3 separate regions of the Homo sapiens genome follow, and regions 1 and 2 are each linked to region 3. Evidence: promoter capture Hi-C in human tissues and cell types (Jung and others, 2019). All regions are on one chromosome and are shown on one strand. Each heading gives the region's core, a stretch centred on a gene start or on the middle of the fragment in contact. The rest is flanking DNA. Distances are from core to core; before and after follow the strand shown.

The links. The method cuts DNA at HindIII sites, captures the fragments that hold promoters and counts their contacts. A contact is called where the count stands out against the background at its distance.
Region 1: a contact is called between a fragment that was not itself captured here and the fragment with the promoter of PCOLCE in region 3, in 1 of the 25 tissues and cell types used here (dorsolateral prefrontal cortex).
Region 2: the fragment with the promoter of EPHB4 here is called in contact with the fragment with the promoter of PCOLCE in region 3 in 1 of the 25 tissues and cell types used here (IMR-90 fibroblasts).

The regions. Positions count from the first base shown.
Region 1 is chr7:100,842,816-100,846,920 of GRCh38, reverse strand. All of the region lies in intron 1 of SLC12A9-AS1 (SLC12A9 antisense RNA 1), which reads left to right. It also overlaps a transcript of SLC12A9 not described here. Among named protein-coding and RNA genes, the nearest start is that of SLC12A9-AS1, 7.7 kb to the left of the region's middle. The HindIII fragment of the contact is 3,628 bases long and covers 1-3,377 here.
Region 2 is chr7:100,825,958-100,829,962 of GRCh38, reverse strand. It overlaps EPHB4 (EPH receptor B4), which reads left to right and starts at 2,440. Exons shown (of 17, transcript NM_004444.5): 1 at 2,440-2,984. The coding sequence starts at 2,933. It also overlaps a transcript of SLC12A9 not described here. RefSeq lists enhancers at 49-844, 1,641-2,436. The HindIII fragment of the contact is 16,187 bases long and covers 15-4,005 here.
Region 3 is chr7:100,600,975-100,605,050 of GRCh38, reverse strand. PCOLCE (procollagen C-endopeptidase enhancer) reads right to left here and starts at 2,688. Exons shown (of 9, transcript NM_002593.4): 1 at 2,500-2,688; 2 at 1,513-1,621; 3 at 834-1,092. The coding sequence starts at 2,594. It overlaps FBXO24 (F-box protein 24), which reads right to left. Exons shown (of 10, transcript NM_033506.3): 10 at 3,934-4,076. PCOLCE-AS1 (PCOLCE antisense RNA 1) reads left to right here and starts at 1,013. Exons shown (of 9, transcript NR_038910.1): 1 at 1,013-1,213; 2 at 1,885-2,711; 3 at 3,368-3,431. RefSeq lists silencers at 70-219, 400-779 and an enhancer at 787-1,579. The HindIII fragment of the contact is 8,861 bases long and covers 1-4,076 here.

The sequences.
Region 1 (4,105 bases), core at 314-2,813, 240 kb before region 3:
GCTTTTCTATACAATGTCTATAATCTATAGATAACATAACCGATTAGGTCAGGGGTCGATCTTTAACTACTAGGCCTAGGGTGTGGCACCAGGCTGTCTGCTTGTGGATTTTATTTCTGCCTTTTAGTTTTTACTTTTTCTTTCTTTGGAGGCAGAAATTGGGCATAAGACAATATGAGGGGCGGTCTCTTCCTTTATTCCTCCCCTTTGAGACTCACTCAATAGTGGAAGTTCTCACTTTCATTCTCACTACCCATGTCTTCTTGCACGACAGATCGATAGTGATTCATATAGTACACTTGTGCTGAAGCATTTTGGTGAACTAAGGTAGCGATGAAGCTTTTTTTTTTTTTTGAGACGGAGTCTCACTTTGTCGCCCAGGCTAGAGTGCAGTGGCGCGATCTCGGCTCACTGCCAGCTCCGCCTCCTGGGTTCATGCCATTCTCCTGCCTCAGCCTCCCGAGTAACTGGGACTACAGGCGCCCGCCACCACGCCCGGCTCATTTTTTTGTATTTTTAGTAGAGACAGGGTTTCACCGTGTTAGCCAGGATGGTCTCCATCTCCTGACCTCGTGATCCACCCGCCTCGGCCTCCCAAAGTGCTGGGATTACAGGCGTGAGCCACCGCGCCCGGCCTGCAATGAAGCTTTTTATCATTTGAAGAAGTACAGGTAGCAAACAAAGGAGCAGTAAGCAGGTTCCTATTACTATTATAACTCTTATTATAAGACTTTTAAATTCTCTTAGCACTGGGAACCATTTTCTAAACATGGCCTCAGGATCAAATCCATGCCACACTTGCCTAGGCACATGTGCCAGTTTTGTCATATCTCTATGTCTTCAACTACTTGCCTTTGATTATCTATGTGTAGGCAGCAATTAGTAAGGTTAAATTTCTTACAGACCTCTCCTTCAGCTGCTAGCAAGTAGTCGAGAGCTAATCTATTTTGATAGAGAGCATTTCTCATCTGAGTTTCTTGCCGGCCTAGAATAGTCAAGGCTCTGCTGGTTTTATTAGTGATTATTTTTAAGACAGCTTGTAACCATATGATTCAGTTGATTATATAAATGGGGGTCCAGTATCTTCACGAGCCGTCTTGTGTCTAAGTAGCAGGCCTATAATATTGTATGATTCTCTCAGAGGGCCATTTATCATTTTTTGAATTTCCTATGGCTATGCTTCTCTTTTCACGGGAAGCATAGACAGGGAAGCCTAGGAGTTGGCCTGTTTTTATGGGCAGTAGGAAGAAAGATGGTTTAATAGTGCCAATAGGCCGGGCGTGGTGGCCCACGCCTATAATCCCAGCACTTTGGGAGGCCGAGGCGGGTGGATCACAAGGGCAGGAGATCGAGACCATCCTGGCTTACATGGTGAAACCCCGTCTCTACTAAAAATACAAAAAATTAGCCGGGCATGGTGGCGGGCTCCTGTAGTCCCAGCTACTCGGGAGGCTGAGGCAGGAGAATGGCGTGAACCCGGGAGGTAGAGTTTGCAGTGAGCCGAGATTGCTCCACTGCACTCCAGCCTGGGCGACAGAGCAAGACTCCGTCTCAAAAAAATAAATAAATAAATAAAATAAAATAGCGCCAATAACACAACTACTTGTCTGCTGGTCAGGCAGCCTAGCGTAGGCTCTATGTCCACATATCTAGTATAGCCTAGTGGGGGCCGTCCAGTCCTGGTGGGATTCTGGGTGGGCCTAAACGGTCCGCAACTTTGGAAATTTAGTGAATGGATTTTTCTCTGTGTGGTTTGAAGTCCACCATGCAGTCTTCCTACAGGAAGGATGAAGTCCTTCTCCACTTTTGCTATACAGTATTGTCCAATGATTGAGGCTTTTAGGACCTAGAAGTGATCAGGGTGATTTTTTTGTGCCAGGAATTCATCAGGAACTGGGTATGTAGGTACCAATTCTCGGGCTTCCCATGGCCATTGATCTCCTATTACAGCTCCTCCACATATATAACAGGAAGTGACATTGAGAGACTGGGCTGCACGCTCGGCTAATTGCAAAAACAAATTTCTTGTTTTTCCTGGAATTTCTGGTACTGGCACTTTTAGTTTATCATAGAAGTTTTGAAATACTGGCTCAGGAGAGCGTTTATAAACTTCTCCTCGAACTAAGATATTTACTCGAGGATCCAGTCCAGCCCCGTTGATTCCTAAGGTCACACGCTCCTCTTTTTTCTAGCGAGGATCAAGGGGATTGGTTATTACTAGCTCTAAAGGGTTACATTGTCCTTTAGTACAGGAAGGGCCATTTTTTCCTTTCTGAAGGTGGACTGGGTCCTTTTTATTTTTTTTTAATTTAAGTGGCTTAAATGACACAAGACCAGTATTTACATTTATTTCCACACAGTCCTAATTTATGACAGATGTACTTATTTTCTGCCATATAGCCTCTTTTCTAATTAAGAGAACTACACCTTATTCCCAACTTATTACTATTAATGATAGCACAGGCATCAAATTTTAACGTGACTTGTTTGGGCACCTCTTTTTCTTCTGTTTTGGTTAACACTTTACTCATATCGTTTGTGAGCCCCCACCAGTCTTCATTCTTAATCTTATTTTAAAAACTGTGGTCATGGGAGGCTCAGGTGGGTCATAACGCACATCAGGTTGGTCATTTCCTGGGCTACATACCTTGTACAGAATAACATTATACAAACAAGGCTTTTTTAGAGTTCTAGTACACTTATAATAACTGTAAAATAATAGGACCATAGCAACCTTTTGTCCTACCTCAGTGACTTGATGTATATACTGGGAACAGTCCTCAGTCTGAGGAAGGTCAGTTGAAGTCCTTACTGTAAAATTCCAAATTTTAAGGCAAATGAGTCCTGCGATGAGTTTTCTCATGCTTCGGCCATGCGTGGACCAGTCAGCTTCCGGGTGTGACTGGAGCAGGGCTTGTCATCTTCTTCAGAGTCACTTTGCAGGGGCTGGCGAAGCTGCTTCCGTCCACATACTGCTCACAGTCTACTGATGTTTAAGGATGGTTTCGGAGGTTGGGCCTGCTAGGATAAACTGAGTCTAACACCCCTATACAGTTATGTTCAACTGGGCTTTCTGATACTGGCAGCAAGGTGGTGGGGTTTAGGGTGTTGCAAACTTCAATGGTTATGTGGGGATTTTCACATAGCAAGCTTTGGTACTTGGTTAATCTAGCATTTGTAACCAATGAGGTCCTTTGGTAGTCATTCAAGTTACCACAGCATGGGGGGACTTTATATTCAGGTTTTGCCTAAGGGTTAGTTTATCTGCTTCTTGTGCTAACAGGGCCATTGCTGCTAGGGCCCTTAAACCTGGGGGCCAGCCTTTGGAAACCTTGTCTAGTTGTTTTGAGAGATAGGCCACTGGCCTTGCCCAGGGCCCTACAGTCTGGGTTAAAACTCTAACTGCCTTTTTTTCTCTTTCTGACACGTAGGGTGTAAAGGGTTCAGGTAGCCTCAGGGCTGGGGCCGACATGAGTTTTTCTTTTAACTCATGAAAAGCTCATTGCTGTTGGTTGTAATAGATGTAGTTTATCTAATCTACATTTTTATTAACTGTCACTCACCAAAATATTGACTCAAATCCTGCAGCTATTTGATTTCAAGCTTTAAATTGATCTGGTATTCCTCATGGGACTCCAATTGCGTCTAAATAGACATGAGAGTCAAAAGACCCATAAGGGGCTTCTCTCGCTTTACAATGTCTTATTTTTTCTCCCTCTGGTTGATGAAATGCCAGGGTGAAAGGGATAGCCAATTGGACTAAAGTACAAGTGCCACTCCAGTTATTCGGCAGAGTGCCTAGTAAAGGTCCACCAAAATACCACCACACATCCGCTCAGGGATGAACAAGGGCTGACTGATTAATAAGCTCTTGAAAATTCTTAAGCTCATCGCATCCCTTCAGGTCTCCAAGGAATGCTAAGTTTCCTCCCTGTAGTGAGAGATACGAAGTGAACTTAGTGTTGGGAGACGGAAGCTGGATGGCCCTCAGGGGCTGACCCGCAGGGTGCCAGACTTAGGGATACAGCAGAGAGAGCTTGGCATGACTTATTACTCCAGGCTGTAGAATCCTGGAAAAGAGCTACCATGCAACCTACACCTGGTC
Region 2 (4,005 bases), core at 1,191-3,690, 230 kb before region 3:
TCTGCCTCCCGGGTTCAAGCGATTCTCGTGCCTCAGCCTCCCTAGTAGCTGGGACTACAGGTGTGTGCCATGATGCCCAGCTGATTTTTGTATTTTTAGTAGAGAGGGGTTTCACCATGTTGGCTAGGCTGGTCTCGAACTCTTGGGCTCAAGTGATCCACCCGCCTCGGCCTCCCAAAATGCTGAGATTACAGACCTGAGCTACTGTCCCCAGCCAGAAGACATAACTTTTAGAGGCTACAGGATCTGGGTACAGAGTGAGAGTGGCAAAAGGCAGGGCAGGGGTTTGGGAGAGGGTTGCAGAGAACCCCGAGGGAGAAGCTGAATAAGAGAAGGGGAGACTGGGCCTGCATCGGGGAGGGAGGAGGGAATTCCCAGCTCCAGCCTGGTCTGCCTGGCTCCAGTGAAGCCGGCTGTTTCCTGCCCTCGGTGACCGGCCCACCCCCCCCAACCCGGGCGCAGGACCCAGGCAGAACAGCAAGGAAGGGCAGGGGTGTGGGGAACACCTCTTGCAGCAGGAAGATAAGTAAGCCGGGACAAGAGGTTATCACAGGCCCGGCTGTCCTTTCTGGGACGTAAGGGCGCTTGGCAGCCCCCCAAGCATCCTGGACTCCAACGTCTCTCTTGCTGGGCTCCAACGTCTCTCTTGCTGGGCTCCTCAAGATTCTGTCCTCCGGCTGGGCGCGGTGGCTAACGTCTGTAATCCCAGCACTTTGGGAGGCCAAGGTGGGTGGATCACTTTAGGTCAGGAGTTCGAGACCAGCCTGGCCAACATGGCGAAACCCTGTCTCTACTAAAAATACGAAAACTAGCCGGGGTTGGTGCCCTGTGCCTGTAATCCCAGCTACTCGGGAGGCTGAGGCAGGAGAATCGCTTGAACCTGGGAGGCGGAGGTTGCAGTGAGCCCAGATCACGCCACTGCACTCCAGCCTGGGAAATAGAGGGAGACTCTGTCTCAAAAAAAAAAAAAAAATCTGTCCCCGCTAATTACTGTGGGAGTCTAAGTCCTTTCCTTCTGCCCCTTGGAGGGGCTGACTCCTGGAGCAGCACCCCCTCCAATCCATCTATCCAGTAACCCATACTGTTAAGTTCCCTGAAGTAGAAGGGGGTTGGTGGGAGGAGCACGGCTGTGCTGGACCCTCCCCGCTAACTGATGGGAGGGTGAGGGGAGTTGGCAGTGAGAGGAAGGGCCCCTCCCAGCCATCCCGAGGGCCCCCAGGAGCCAGACAGGAAACAGCTCAGGAAAGACAGCAGCCGCAGCCGCAGCCCCAGCCTCAGGGGTCATGGCTGCGGGCGGCGGGGAAGCCCCCCCAAAACACGAGAGTGAGAGTGAGAAGGGCGATTTGGAGATCTAGCCGGACCCCTCACCCTCTCGGACACACCCACCTTTTTTTTTTTTTTTTTTTTTTTTGAGATTTCGTCTCACTCTGTAGCCCAGGCTGGAGTGCAGTGGCGCGATCTCAGCTCCCAGCTCACTGCAACCTCCGCCTCCTAGGTCCCGGTTCAAGCAATTCTCCTGCCTCAGCCTCCCGAGTAGCTAGGATTACAGGCGCGCGCCACCATGCCCAGCTAATTTTTGTATTTTTAGTAGAGACGGGGTTTCATCATGTTGGCCAGGCTGGTCTTGAACTCCTGACCTCAAATGATCCGCCTGCCTCTGCCTCCCAAAATGCTGGGACTACAGGCGTGAGCCACCGCGCCCGCCACACCCACCTTTTCTTTACCGTTGTTTCCTCGATTTTTCTCTACTCCCTAGCGCAGCTTAGTGCGCGCCTCCTCTGGACATTTTTCAGGGCTTGGTTGCGCGCACAGTAGGTCCCCAACACTGAATGTTTATGGGGTGACTGTGTGAACGTTCGCTGCAAGGCTATCCAAACTGGGATTGCTCCTTGAGGCCCCCTGGGCGGCCGTCAATTCTCCAAAGCTTCTACTCCCTTTTCCTTCCTTTTCCCCCAAAACGCAGTCCCTGCGCCCACTAGAGGGTGGTGGGCGCATCCAAGAGCGGCATCTAGAGTCCGCAGCAAGGTCAGAGCGGGCTTTGTGTGCGCGGTGAACATTTACGTGCACGCCTGGGCGGCCCTCCGTGTTGCTGCTGGGTGTGTGTTTTCTCTGCTCCCTGGTGCCAGCCGGGTTCGGGCCTGTCCCGGGGGTCCCTGGGCCCCAGCCCCGACATGCTCGGTCCTGGACAGCGCGCACCGCCACGGCGCACATCTGGGCGGTCCCGGGGTTCCTCACCCGCCGCCCCTCCCCCTTCTCCAAACTTTCTCTCAACTTCCCGACCTGCTCCACTCGGTGCCCCTCTCCGCTTCCCTCATGAATTATTCAGTAGCGTGAGCTCCAATCAGCGCGCCCGGGGCTCACTCGCGGAGCCCCCGCGTTGGGAGAGCTGCCCCCGCCCCCCGCGCGCCCCTCCCTCCCGGGCCCGGCGCCGCCCGGCCCAGTTCCAGCGCAGCTCAGCCCCTGCCCGGCCCGGCCCGCCCGGCTCCGCGCCGCAGTCTCCCTCCCTCCCGCTCCGTCCCCGCTCGGGCTCCCACCATCCCCGCCCGCGAGGAGAGCACTCGGCCCGGCGGCGCGAGCAGAGCCACTCCAGGGAGGGGGGGAGACCGCGAGCGGCCGGCTCAGCCCCCGCCACCCGGGGCGGGACCCCGAGGCCCCGGAGGGACCCCAACTCCAGCCACGTCTTGCTGCGCGCCCGCCCGGCGCGGCCACTGCCAGCACGCTCCGGGCCCGCCGCCCGCGCGCGCGGCACAGACGCGGGGCCACACTTGGCGCCGCCGCCCGGTGCCCCGCACGCTCGCATGGGCCCGCGCTGAGGGCCCCGACGAGGAGTCCCGCGCGGAGTATCGGCGTCCACCCGCCCAGGGAGAGTCAGACCTGGGGGGGCGAGGGCCCCCCAAACTCAGTTCGGATCCTACCCGAGTGAGGCGGCGCCATGGAGCTCCGGGTGCTGCTCTGCTGGGCTTCGTTGGCCGCAGCTTTGGAAGGTGAGTTTCCTTGCGGGGGGGGGCGCACCCCGTCACTCCTGGGACCTCCCCCCCAACATCTGGGCCTCGGAGTGGAGGGGCCGGCCTCTGACTACCCCTACCCGGGCACTGCAGTCCCAAACACTTCGGACCGATAGTGCTGGAACGGGAGGGGGGCGGGGAAGAGGCGCCCGACGGGTAGTGGAGTTTTCTTTTGTTTGGGAAAGAGATGGAGTCTGGCTACGACCCGGGACATTCCCCTGCCCGGGCTCCCCGAACTCTCACTGCTGATTACATACGCCCCTGGCTGCCTTTCCTTTCCTCCCTACCCCACTATTCAAAACTATCTGCAAAGTTTCTGTCCCAGTCCCACCTCCCGCCGTACATGAGGGAAGGTTTCTGGAGAAGCAACAGCAGACAAGGCACAACTTTTCGTGCTAGGCCCTAAAACGACCCCCAGCGCCAATTCCTTAGCGATCACACCTTGATCCTCCAGTTCCACACTCCTGCAACAGGATGGCCTCCTTTGCATTCACACAGCAAACCCCCAAACCGCTCTCCCGCCCACTGCTCCTGCCCCTGGTATAGGGTGGCTCCTTGGTTTCTACAGGCTGCACCCCATCCCTTTAAATGCGGTCTAGACCCCGGCCCCAGGTGAGTCCCGGGCTTCCCTTGAGACCTAGGAGCGGGTAGAAACTGACCTACACAGCCCCCAGGTAGAAACTGACCTACACAGCCCCCACATCGCCCTAACTAACCCAGTCTATCTCCCACCTCCTGGTCTCTCCAAGCATTTCTTTGGCCATGGATCGCTGTCCCTCCTGGTCCCCTAAAGGGGGAGCCAAGAGCCCTAGAAACTCTCCTGTGTCCCTAATGTCCTTTCAGTGAGCTGCCAACACCCCCCTTTCTCTGTCTGGTATGAAAGTGGTTATGGGGCGGTAGGCTATGAGGGACTCCCAAAGGGAAGGATTCAGCGGCGTTAGAAAAACCCTCTCCCCCTGGCTGGGCAGGACTGCCCTGGGCTGGGGATCAAAGGCTAGGT
Region 3 (4,076 bases), core at 1,439-3,938:
GACCCTCGGTCAGCTTCAGGAGAACTCTAGGCTGGGAGCCCCGGCAGGCAGCTCGGATGTCTGGGGCTCAGGATGAGGGGACGAGAAGAAGGGGAGGTAAGATGGGGGCAGGTTAACAGAGAGCGGCCGGGAGGAGCGCGGCTCGGGGAAGTCTGGGGCCGCAGGGCGCACTGGCGGGCGGTGGAAGCGGGAGGAGGAACTGGCTGGACGCCCCCTTCTGGCCCCTCCCCGACCCGCGGCCGCACCGCGCCTCTTCCCCTAGGAGATCCCATCTCCCCGGCCCTGCAGCAGAGTCCCCTTTCAGGCTGGAGAGGGTGTCCTCGACTTGGGGCACAGCCCCCGAGGACCCCTTTAGGGAGGTCCCCGCCTGAAACATTGCAAGGGAGACTTCTGCCGCCAGGAGGGGGTGATGGGACCGCAATCGGGAGCCCAGGGCTGGGTGTAGGGGCCCCCCGGGGTTGGAGGAACCTAGTCCCCCCAGCCCTGGGGTGCCCCCTCGCGCCCGACGGAGGGAGCCCGATTGCGGACGGGGGCCGGCAGTTACTCACCGTCCCAGTAACCCCAGGCCGCCCATTCCACCCGCGGGTCGGTGACCCATTTCCGCCTCGCGCCTGGGGGGGGCCCTGGAAGAGGGATGGGTGGGTGCGGGAGGAGGGGAGAGAAGACGGGGAGGAGGGACTGAAGGGGCGGTTAGTGAGGAAAATGGGTCAGGGAGGTAGGGGGCCCTAGGCACTGGGGCGCGGGGTGGGCGGGGCGGAGGTTAGGGCTGGGGGCGGGGCTGCGGCCGGGGCGGGGCCTGGAGGGGGGGAAGGCGGAGGTGAGGGAGTTCTCACCAGTGCCCGAGGTGGCCCGCCCGCTGTACCAGAGCAGGAAGCCTCGTCCTCCTGTGCCCTCATCCGTCGTCATCCTCAGGGTCACCTGGTTGCCGGGGGCGACTAGGGGCGCAGGCCGGAAGGTCCCACAAAAGCGTCCGAGCCGCTGGCCGGAAGTCCCAGACCCAGCGAAGACCTCCAGAGCATCGTAGCGGCAGGCGGGGTGCAGCTCCAGGTCGAAGACTCGGAATGAGAGGGACACAGTCTGGCCCTCGGGGACCTGATAGCGGGGACAGAGGCGGGGACCCACAGAGTCAGGCCCCACACAACCCAGCCAGAGGGCAGCTCCCCTGCCCCAAGCGTTTCTTGCAGAAACGGACTGAATGGGAAGGGGCCTCCATGTGAGTGCAGAGCAGAGGGCCTGGTCTCTGCAGCTCTGCTGGTAGCCTGTGCAGGGGACAAGAGCTGAGGCTTTGGAAGAGGAGGGAGGGCCGGGGACTGGAGAATGAAGATTTGAGGGAAGGGTTAAGATGATGCGTGTTACGGTGGGAATGATGCCTTCAGTGACAGAGGGAAGACACTTGGAGCTGCCCCAGGTTGAGAAGGTGGTGCGGGGGGGACGGGGGGGGGGTCCCTTCGCAGTCAGGCCTTTTTGCCTCTGAGACTTTAACAAGGGGTAGTGCCCAGAGGGGTTTCTCACCGTTATGGTCCAGATGCACTCCTTATTAGGGGGGTAGAGGTTGGGGAACCCCTCACTTGCCACGTAACCTGATTCCCCCTTCACATCCCCTCCGCACAGGAACACGGGTCTGGAGAACAGAAAAGGGGTCAGGAAAGAGCAGGGACGGGTGGGACGGGGGAGCACTGGCAAGATGGGGATGAGGTGATGAGGATGAAACTCCAAGGAGGGAAGCTGGGGGATGAAATGGAAAGGCCTTGAGAGACCTGGGGCAGCTTCCACCAGCCAGGACAGGGCTGGGGTGTCCCAGACTCCCACAAAGATAAGGGAAAAGTGGGCCTGGCAACTCGACCATCCCTCCAACCCCAAGAGTCCCCACCCCCACCCCAACAGGAATTCCCGGAATCCTCCTCGGCCCCCCTTCCAGACTCCCGCCTCACTCTGCCTGGCAGTCCAGGGACAGGAGCCGCCTAACTACTTCCAGATGTGGACACAGCCACGAGGCGGTGGGGGGGAGGGGGTGGAGAGATGGAGGGAGCTGCAGTGGCGATGGCCCTCTGATTGAACCTGGAGGCCAGGCTCCGCGAGCTCCACACCTTAGCCCTGCCCCTGTTCCAAACTACTTCAGATTCTGACTCCCAAGTCTCCACTCACTGCCCCCTCCTCCCCCTACAATCCCTCTCGAATTCCTTCCTGGAATCCAGCTACCAGGCAAGTTCAGGAGCTTGGCTCTCTCTTGGGTTCTATGGGGGGTCAAGGATCTGGGTGGGTGGGGAGACTTAAGAGACCAGAGGACGAAGGTGGGGGAATGGGAGCAGTGGTGGCCTGCAGGAGACCAAGGTCTTGCAGCAGATGGGGAGGATTTGGGGGCCAGAGAAGGGTGAGGCGGTGGGGAATCTGGGGAGTGGTGTGTCAGCAAGGGAACCCAAAATATCTCCAGGCATAACCCCAAAGGAATCGGGGGTCTGAAGTTCACTGGAGCTGTCTGGAAGATGCCAAGAGACCTACCTGGTGTAGTTGGGGGTCTGGCCCTGGGCAAAAGGCAGCAGGGCGCAGGCAGTGAGGAGGGGCCCCAGGAGGGAGGCTGTGGCTGCAGGCAGCATGGCCCCGGGGGAAAGGCGCTGGGGTCCTCAAGACAGAGGCAGCAGCTGAATTTTGCAGAGCAGCAGCAGCGGTGGCGGCAGCAGCAGGATAATCAGCGCCAGATGGGGCAGCCTTGGGTGTGTGGGCGTGGGGACTGGCCAGTGGGGCGGGCAATGGGGAAGGCGGGACAGTGGCGTGTCCTGGGACCTCTCTAGGTCTAGGACACATAAATGTTGACCTTAGGAGGGGGAGGAGCAGTGAGGGGCAGAGGCCGTCTCCCAGGCCTCAAGTAACGTCATCGGGAACCCCACTCTGTCCAGTGAGGGAGTATCTCCGGGAACTTCTGAGGACTCCCTAGCCCCCATCCTCCCCCCGCCCCTGCTTCCTCAGCTCAGGAGCCCTCATTGCTCACCCCCTGCCTGACCACCCCTGCCAGCTCATTTTCCACTTCAATTTCTTTTTTTTTTTTTTTTTTTTTTTGAGACAGAGTCTCATTCTGTGACCCAGGCTGGAGTGCAGTGGCGCGATCTCTGCTCACTGCAACCTCCGCCTCCCGGGTTCAAGCAATTCTTGTGCCTTAGCCTCCCGAGTAGCTGGGACTGCAGGTGCATGCCTCCACACCTGGCTAATTTTTGTATTTTTAGTAGAGGCAGGGTTTCAGCATGCTGTCCAGGCTGGTCTCAAATTCCTAGCCTCAGGTGATCCGCCCACCTCGGACTCCCAAAGTGCTGGGATTATAGGCGTAGCCACCACACCTGGCCTCCACTTCACATCTCCATTGCCTTCTCTCCAGACCTGGGCCAGACTAGGCCAAGGAGAAGGAATTCTCACCCATGACCTCTTCCAACTACTTGAAGGTACAGGAAGCAAGGCAGGAGGCATGGGGTGTGGATGAAGGGAGTGTCCTTGTTACTCAGGAAGAGGTGGAAGGAGTAGAAAATAGAGCCCAAACCTGGGAGGTAAACAGAAGGGAGAGAGGAGGGGGGCTGGCTTCAGGCCGAAGGGAGATGGGTGGGAAGCTTTCGGGGGTCAGGAGGAACAGGCTGCCTCAGGATGGGGACAAGTCTAGTGGGCAGGGGATCCCAGTGGGGTAGCCAAGAGCATCTGTGCATAGAGTTGTTCCAGAAGGTAGGGCCAGAACTTCCCAGTCCAAACGACCAGGTGTGCTCTTGGGAGCAGGGAGTGGACAACAATGTGAAGGGTTCAGGCAGCATCAGCTCTGCTGCACCTGAGACCTGGAGCTGCTTGTGCTGCCTGCCCCTGCCTGGGCTCCTGCCCTCCTGCACCCACCAAGCCGGGCACCCACCCACCCCATCCCTGCCCCTGTCCCTCCCAGCCCCCAAGGCTTCCACACCAGGCCTCGCTGCAGCCTTTTATTCTATCCATCAAATCTCTTGTCCATGATAGTCAGGTTGGGGGCCCCTCCTGGGCAGCCCCCTGAACATTCTTACCCTGGTTAGCCGTCCCCACCCCCTAGCAACCCCTTCCCACACGCATGTGCA